Linked DNA regions of Homo sapiens: region 2 is linked to region 1. The links are contacts of gene promoters, found by promoter capture Hi-C in blood cells and fetal thymus (Javierre and others, 2016). All regions are on one chromosome and are shown on one strand. Each heading gives the region's core, a stretch centred on a gene start or on the middle of the fragment in contact. The rest is flanking DNA. Distances are from core to core; before and after follow the strand shown. Region 1 holds the start of PSIP1 (PC4 and SRSF1 interacting protein 1). Region 2 holds the start of CAAP1 (caspase activity and apoptosis inhibitor 1).

Evidence for each region. Contacts are between HindIII fragments. The CHiCAGO score rates a contact against its expected background, and 5 or more counts as called.
Region 2: a contact is called between a fragment that was not itself captured here and the fragment with the promoter of PSIP1 in region 1, in 2 of 17 cell types (total B cells and non-activated CD4 T cells). The highest score is 10.8, in total B cells.

What each region holds. Positions count from the first base shown.
Region 1 is chr9:15,509,439-15,513,518 of GRCh38, forward strand. PSIP1 (PC4 and SRSF1 interacting protein 1) reads right to left here and starts at 1,532. Exons shown (of 16, transcript NM_033222.5): 1 at 1,379-1,532; 2 at 679-891. The coding sequence starts at 750. RefSeq lists enhancers at 645-1,598, 1,599-2,551, 3,204-3,822 and silencers at 658-857, 958-1,007, 1,138-1,197, 1,208-1,417, 1,438-1,517. The HindIII fragment of the contact is 3,241 bases long and covers 1-2,773 here.
Region 2 is chr9:26,890,166-26,894,686 of GRCh38, forward strand. CAAP1 (caspase activity and apoptosis inhibitor 1) reads right to left here and starts at 2,637. Exons shown (of 6, transcript NM_024828.4): 1 at 2,248-2,637. The coding sequence starts at 2,550. RefSeq lists enhancers at 2,036-2,615, 2,187-2,366, 2,447-2,666, 2,616-3,195, 2,797-2,866. The HindIII fragment of the contact is 207 bases long and covers 3,102-3,308 here.

The sequences.
Region 1 (4,080 bases), core at 282-2,781:
AGATGTGAACTGAGGAATCTGGTCCACACCTCCTTTTTGCCTATTGGAAACAAAAAGGTAAAACAACTTCTTCAAGGTCATAAACATCTCAAATAAAAAAGGAGAAATGAATTTTCTGGCCCTTCCTCGGTACTAAACTACTGTAATACTTTCAAGAATATCCAGTCCTGAATCTGTATTAAACAAGCAAATCCAGAAGGCCTCATCAAGTACAAGGTATTTTTTTTAAAACCCTGTAAATCCAATTTAATCACATACGCACTTCTCTGACATCCAAGTGTTTGTGTGTAATCTGCACAAATTCCATTGATATTTTGTACTTGATCCAAAACTATGGAAATGTCAATGTTTCACTAATTTTTAAACAAAAATTCACTCTTCATTATTTCACCTACAATGGAATATTAACTAGCAACGCATTTAAATATTTCCTAGGAAGAAAATCTGTCCAAGTCTGCCAATAAACCATAGGGAAATACACAGGTATGTAGAAACGTCTGGATTTTCATAATTACACGGGAGATTATTGGGCAAAAAACTAAAATGAAAGGTCAGGTTACAAATGAGACTAAAGCGAGGGAGAGAAAGGACAGAAGAAAAAATAAAGAGACACGGTGGGCAGCAGGCCTCTGGAGAGGAGGGTAGCACTGCTAAGCGCGAGGGCTACAAATCACTTACTCGAGCTGGCCAATGGGGATAACCTTTCATCTTGGCGAAGATGAGGTCTCCAGGTTTGAAATCGCGAGTCATGTTTCGGGGGCGAGACCGGGGGTCCGAAGCCCGGGAGGCGGCGAGGAGATGCGGCGGCGCGGGGATGCGGGCGGCGGACGCGGGCCCAGCTACCGGGCCCGCGGGCGGGGGAGGATGCCTCGGGGCGTCCCGACGCGCCTGCTAGGGAGAGCACCGAGGGCGGTTAAAGCGAAGAACCCCGAAGGGAGGGGCCGCAAGGGGAGGGGGAGGGGAACCGGCGGGTGGGGGTGGGAGAGCGAGGGGACGGCCGCCTCCCGCTCCTCCCCCGCCAGTGCGCTGCCTCCGCGCTGGAGCAGGTCCTCCACCCCGCCACCGAAGAGACGCCACCACCTGAAGCAGGGATGCTGCCCGGCCAGAAATCGCCCGTCTGCCCGCCCCATCTTTCTCCGGGCTTTTTCCACCGAGCTTAAGCCCCAAAAGGGAGGGGGTGCATGGGAGAGAAAAAGGCAGGGATTCCGAGAAGCGAGCGGCCCCCTTCCGCCCACGCAAGGCCTCCCCCGCAACCTGCTGCCCAGCGGCTGCAGCCTCGGCCCCCTCGGCTCCCGGGCGGGCCGCGTCCACTTCCCCGCTACAGCCAGGAGCGACGCCACCGAGGGGGGGGCGGGGCGAGTCCCCGTCGCCCGCTCACCTGCCGGGGCCGCGGGCGCCGACGCTGCGGTTGCTGGCCGGTCGCCTCTACCCGCGTCCACGCAAGCCACCTGCGCCACCAGCTGCCGCAGAGGCGTCTCAACGGCTCGGAATCGCAACCGCGCCGCCGCTGCCGCCGCCGTAGCTGCGCTGCTCCCGCGCGGCTCCCGCTCGGCGCCCGCTAGCACTGGGGCGCGACCAACTGTTTACCGAGAGAGGGGGGATGTTGCAGCACCCGGCGAAGCTGTGTGGCTCCGAAGCGGATTTTCTGGAAACCCTACGTCCCCAAGTTCGCTTTCATGTAACAGGTGCATGCAGATGGAGAGGAAGACGCAAGCGAAGAAGAAAGGACTGGGCGAAAATAGCTCGGCCTGCCGCAAGTTCCCCCTGCGGTTTGCGGAGTGGTCGGGCCCGGCCCGCCCCTGCTGGCTTCTCTGCGTGTGTGTATTTGTATGTGTACTGTATGTAAAAGGCGGGGAGGGAGGAAATGATTGTTGTGGACGCGGTTTTGGGGGCGGGTATCCGGGCCTCTCTCCCTTGGCTGCGTGTTAGGGAGAAAGTGGCAGTAAAGATTCATGTTCTTGTATCGTTTCCAGGGTGGGGAGGTTTGAATGCTGCTTTTGCGCGGTTTGCATCATCCAAAAAAGAGGAGCTGTACGAAAACCCTAAGATGAAATTGGAGCATGCGGCGGTTGCAGGGTGTGCTGCATCTAGGCCTCTTGCACCTCGCTGAATGGGCCTCGTAGTCTCCTTTTCCTTGAAATTGTAGTATGAGAGAGCCCTATTTCATTTCTTTTGCATTTGCATCACCAAGAACTATTAAGAAAAATGCAACCCTACTGAATGCAAAATGCGAAGGGTAGAAAACAATGACAGGAAAACAGAAACCTTTTAGATAGGATGTGAGTTTGGGCCCTAACTAAATTTTAGCTGCATCTAAATTTTATTTCCCTAGTAGAATAGGAGCTGGTAGGTGGTACAATGTGTAAGTGTTACTAAACCTCAAATATTTTCTCTCTTAAAATGCTCTTCAAGGGATTTTAAAGGTTAATTTTTTGATCCTTTAGAGAGGCTGAAAATATTTTTAAAAAGAATGTTAAGACATATAAAAATAAGAATAATAAGACATATATTAGCACCTAGATAATACTGTTTTAAATACGGGACTCAACTGGAAATGAATTAGGAAATTTTTTTTGAATTGGTAAAAATTGAGAATTTTTTGAAAGCGATACAGCATGTCTTTAAAAAGGAATGAAAGAAGACAGTCCCAAAGTAAAATGTCCTGTAAGGAGTTTCGAGAAACTAAGTATACCTGGGCAATATGCAGAGAGTTCCAAGTGGAGCAAAAAGAGAAATTGGCAGAGGAGAAGGAAGGGTTGGTGAAATGTCTTGAAGCTTCTCATTCTGAATATGAATTTAATGTGTGTAGTAGGAAGCTACTATAGGTTGCTCAGCAAGAAGGGGGTAAAAATGATTATTTAACCAGTTCTTGATGTTTCAAGGTAGATGTTAGTAGAAAGAGGCTGGGGGTAACTGGAGTACTCATGAAATGACGCATTTCTCAGTGAGAATGGTGACTAAGAAAAGGGAAGGAAGAGCACAACTAAGTAATTACACAAAGGAATGATTGTCAGGTGTTGGCTATAAATTATGCATAGGAAAAGGTGGAAAAAGATGTATTGAAGAAAAGCTCAAGATACAGAGTAAGAGAGACCAAAGCAGCATCCAGCAATCATTTTTTTGTGTGTATGCACTTTATTTGTTCTAAACCCTGTAAGGCCTTGCTACTTCAAGTGTGGTCCAAGGCCCAGCAGCAAGGGCTTTACCTGGGAGCTCAGGTAAAGCTCAGACCTTCCCCAGGCCTTCTAAATCATAATCTGCGTTTTAACAGGATCCCTAGGTGATTCTTACGCATATTCAAGTTTGAGAAACTGCTTTAGAGGATACCTCAGACTGTAAAAACTTCAAACTAAGAAAAACAGATATATAACAAGTTATAATTAACGTTAAAGATAACTTTTTATTAGTACTAATGGTAGGATTAACAGGTAAAGAGGGGGTAGTTAGTGTTAGAGGGGACCTCAGAAAAGAAATAAAAAAGGGAAAATGGAAAAGCATTGATGTTTTACTATTAGTATTTTCTGTTGTTTTTGTTGTTTTAAAAAAAGGAAGTACCATACTTAGCTCCTGCTGCCTTTAAGTTTTGTCCGCTTCAACCTGTGGTAGTTTGTGAACAACAGGAGATACCCTTTAAACAATAAAGGCAAAACAGGTGGTGGTTTAAGCTTCCAGAGAACAAAAGCCCAGGATCCCTGGGAGCAACAGTTCTGAATCTGCGAGGAAAGGGGGGGGGAGGGGAGGGGAGGGGAGGGCAGGGAACGGGGAAGGAAAGCTGGGCACATCCTAGCCACTTGGGAGAGCTTTTCTGTGCTCTTTTCCAGCTATGCTTGGTGCAGCCCTCTCCCATAGTCAGCCTTCTTAGTGGGGATACTTGAAAAAGTATACCAAAATGGAGATCAGAGGAGCAATGGGAAAGTTATAAGGAGAAAGAGTGTAATTTCCAAAACAACTGAAGCAAGGGGAGGGGGCAGGAAAATCCAAATGAGTTGAGGCAGGAACTTGGCCTACATTATCTCATTTAACCCAAGTGCCACTATCCCCATTTCACAGATGAGAAAATAAGCTCACAGAAGGTAAGCA
Region 2 (4,521 bases), core at 1,955-4,454, about 11 Mb after region 1:
TGGAAACCAGCCTGACCAACATGGTGAAAACCTTACCTCTATTAAAAATACAAAAATTAGCTGGCCATGGTGGCGGGCACCTGTAATCCCAGCTACTCAGGAGACTGAGCCAGGACAATTACTTGAACCTGGCAGGCGGAGGTTGCAGTGGGCTGAGATGGTGCCACTGCACTCCAGCCTGGGCGACACAGTGAGAGCCTATCTCAAAAAAAGAAAAAAAAAAAGGAAACTATTTAAAATAAGAATGGTAATATCCAAAACTGAATCTAGAAGGGGTGGGAAAACTGAATAGATCTATATTAAATAATTTTTTTAAAGAGTGTCTTAAAAAATCACTCTAAAAAACTCCACTAGACCCAGATACTTCTGACAAATATTTGAGAAGAAAATATAAACCATTCTAGAACACACCAAAAAAACACAAAGCTTCCTAATTCAATCCATTACAAAAATAAAAACTACAGTCTGATCTAATTTAGAAACATATACATAAAAGTTGGCCGGGCACGGTGGCTCACGCCTGTAATCCCAGCACTTTGGGAGGCCGAGACGGGTGGATCACGAGGTCAGGAGATCAAGACCATCCTGGCTAACACGGTGAAACCCCGTCTCTACTGAAAATACAAAAAATTAGCTGGGCGTCGTGGCGGGCGCCTGCAGTCCCAGCTACTCGGGAGGCTGAGGCAGGGGAATGGCCTGAACCCGGGAGGCGGAGCTTGCAGTGAGCCGGGATCACGCCACTGCACTCCGGCCTGGGCAACAGAGCGAGACTCCGTCTCAAAAAAAACAAAAAAAAAGAAACACATACATGAAAGTAAAAATACTGAATTCCAGCCAAGTACAACAAACTCAACAAACCAAACAGCACTTGTCCCAAGACTCCAAAGACTGTTCAACATCAACTAACTTATCAACAAATTACATTATCTGACTAAAGGAGAAAAAGTATGTGATCATCTCAACAGAATGCCAGAAAACCACCTGATAAAATCTCTACATAAACTGTTTCTACTCTACCAAAGAGAATAATGAGCAGAGGATATGTACAGAAAATTACATAAGAAGAAATCAAATGGCAAATAAAAATATTAAAATGTTCAATCTCACTAATAAGGAAAATAAAAATTAAAACAAACTATTAATTTGACCCACTAGTCTGGCAATTTTTTTAAAAAATGCCATCAAAATGTCATCAAAAGCTAGTTAAGAATCTCAGAAATAGGTATTCTTATATATATACTGTTTGGACTATAAATCTGTAAAGTCTCATTTGGAAAGCATTTGGTGGCATTCATAAGTTTTTAATAGCATAAACTTTGACCCAGGAATTTCAGTTCTCACACTCTCTCCCAACATAACTCTTGTAGGAGATATATACATAAAGGTGTTTGTATTGTAGTCACAACAATACAAAAAAACCTGCACACCCAAATATCAGAAAAATATAATACAATACCAGGCAGTCAGTAAAAATAACAAACCACGTATATAAAGAAGCCTATCACAACAATGCAGGTATTCAACAGCGGGAATAACACAATACAGCTTAAGTGTAGGAACTTAAAAACACGTATCTCACGAGGAGTGATTAAAAGAGGCCGCGTATCAAAATACTAATGGAGGGGCAAGAAAAGGGACTTGACGCTTTCCCTTTATTTCCTCATTGAATGAATTTAAAGTACCTATTCATTCATTTGTTTTCAAACAAATTATGAACTTTTTTAAAACGGCGTTCTCTTGGCAGACTGGTGGCGTATAAAGAACATGGCTTTTGTAGTCAGATATTTGGATTCAAACCTAGGAGCTATTAACAAACTCTGTGACCGTGGGTAAAGTTTAACTTCTTTGGGCCTCAATTTTCTTATCTCTAATGCGGAGTTAACCATATCTACGAAAAGGTGAAGACGAAGGGAGAAGTGTTTGGCTCGCAAGGGAAATGAAGGCTAGCTTCCAACTCGTATTCTTCCGGCAGAGTGAAACCATAGGAGTGGAAGGAGCCAAGAGTTTAAAAAATAAATTAAAAAAAAAGTGATCAGGAAATCCAGAAACTTGAAGTTCAAGATTCAAGACACGGATGGGAGTGTGGGGCTCACCAGGACTTAGGTAGGAACATGAACCTCAAGGACGGACGACCTTGAGATTGCCGCGCTAGCAGTGAGCTCCAGCCTGCGCCCCATCCCTCTGGAAGCCCGACTTCTTCCGAAAAAGCAGCAGCTCCAGGAAGCGGCCAGAGGGGCGCGCACGCACCTGCTGCAAGGAGCCCGAGACGCTGGAAGAGTCGGTACTCCTCCGCTTCCGGCGCTCGCTGCGCTCCACGCTGCTCCCGCCCCAACAGCTGCCGCCGCTCCCACCGCCGGTGACACTTCCACTAAAATTGGCGTTCCCACAGCAGCTGACGCTCCCGCAGCCCCCGGCGCTCCCGCAGCCGCTAGTGCTTCCACTGCTGCCGCTGGCCAACGCGGGTACGATGTCCGGGGCCGCGAGCGCTGCGGCCGCCTCCTGACTGCTACGTTTGCGCCGTTTCTCCCGGGAGGACTTTTTCCCCGTCATGATCCCTCTGCTGCAACCATCGGAGGAAAGTCCGCTGTCTCTGGTGCGACCGAAGCCCGACTCCTGCGGCCGTGGGCGGCAGGCACTGGCGTCGCAGGTTATGCGTCACTTCCGGCCGTGGCACAGAACGTGGTGAAGCGTTATGGGCCGGGGTGGCAGGGGGGTTGCCATAACCAGTTGCGCTTCCCCCTCCGGTCGCGGAGGTCGATTTGAGTGTGTAGCGGGTAGCCTGTCTAGTCAGAGTTTGTTTTGTTTTGTTTTTATATCTCTACAAAGGATAGAAGGTGGAACTTACGTCCTTTTAACTTCAAAACTTTTTATTGTTAGTGTTTTGTCTGTTTACAATAAGGTTGAAGTATAGTTGCTGATTCTCCATTTCCGTTTACCTCCAAATCTTAAGATATTAACAACGCTATGACAATAAAGAGAATAGGGAAAAGTTGTTCCATCTCATTTTCCTCATCACCTGGGCAAATTAGGTATTTCTTGCGTAGAGTCTGACATGGACAAGTAGAGCTTGAGTTCGTTTTTGAAAATTGAGAATGGGTCAAAGCTTTATGAGATTTTATGGGTGGATGTAATCTAAATAGAAGGCAGATTTTAAGACAAGGGAGCTAGAACACTTAAAACGTGAACCAAGGTCTTTGTCGTTTCAGCAGGGGCCTTTAGCCACTGAGGGAAAAAGGTAGAGCCTGGGGCAAAGCTAGCTGGGTGGTAGTAATTCTGTGCCTTTCCCTGGGGTAAGAAGCAATTAAAGAAGCTTCCCTTCTCTTTGTCTCCTATTTGTCTCAGTCATTCAACAACTACTTAAATGCCTAAAACCAGCCTAGGGTTAATAAATAGGGACACTTCCAGCCCTAGGAAAACTGTCTTCCCCCAGGCCCCACTCTTAAATTGGCCTTGTAAGGTAAATCCTGGGGCTGAGCCCACTGTGTTCCCAGGAGTTCCGTTAAGTATCACACTCATTGGAGTCATACCTGAAAGGATTGAGAGTGTTGTGTTCACAGATAGGAAAAACACATAAAATTAATAACATGTTACATTTATAAACCTGTTATGAATTGTGTCCCTGAAACCATCATAATTTTAATAAAACTAAATTGCTAGATTTTTTCTTTTTTCTTTTTTTTTTTTTTGAGACGGAGTTTCACTCTCGTTGCCCAGGCTGGAGTGCAATGGCACAATCTCGGCTCACTGCAACCTCCGCCTCCCGGGTTCAAGCATTTCTCCTGCCTCAGCCTCCTGAGTAGCTGGGACTACAGGCATGCGCCACCATGCAGGGCTAATTTTGTATTTTTAGTAGACAAGGGGTTTCTCCATGTTGGTCAGGCTGGTCTCGAACTCCCGACCTCAGGTGATCCACCCGCCTCAGCCTCCCAAAGTGCTGGGATTACAGGCGTGAGCCATCGTGCCCTGCCAAATTGCTGGATTTGTGACAAAAGATAAGCTTTTAGTAGAAGCATAGCTAAACGTTAACCAACTTTTCCTATAGCCCACTTCCTTATAGCTGCTTATTGCTTTATAGATATCTTTGACTCGGTTAAGAAATCTCAAGTTTTCCATTTTGAGATATTTACCAGATTCTGTACTCCAATGGTGTTACAGAAGTTAAGAAATTATTTTAGGCAGATAGAGAGGTAAAGGGGTCTTTGGGAAGTTTTTTTTCTTTTAAAGCAGCTCCAGAAATGTTTCTTGTCTAGCAAAAAAGCTGGGCTGGCAAGCTATGATATGCAAATGCAGGCCGTTAGAAACTGGGTTTACTCAGTATGGCGATTCCCCTCTTCTTCTTGTCCCCACATGTGCCTAGCAACATGGCCATCCCCACATATCCCCACATGTGTAGAACATTGTGGCACCCTACATTCGCATATTAAAAGGCTAGGGTGGGAGGGCCACTTTTTTTGCAGGCTACGTGAATGACATACCTGGTCAAACCAATTCCCTGGGTCATATGCAAATTAGTCACCACCT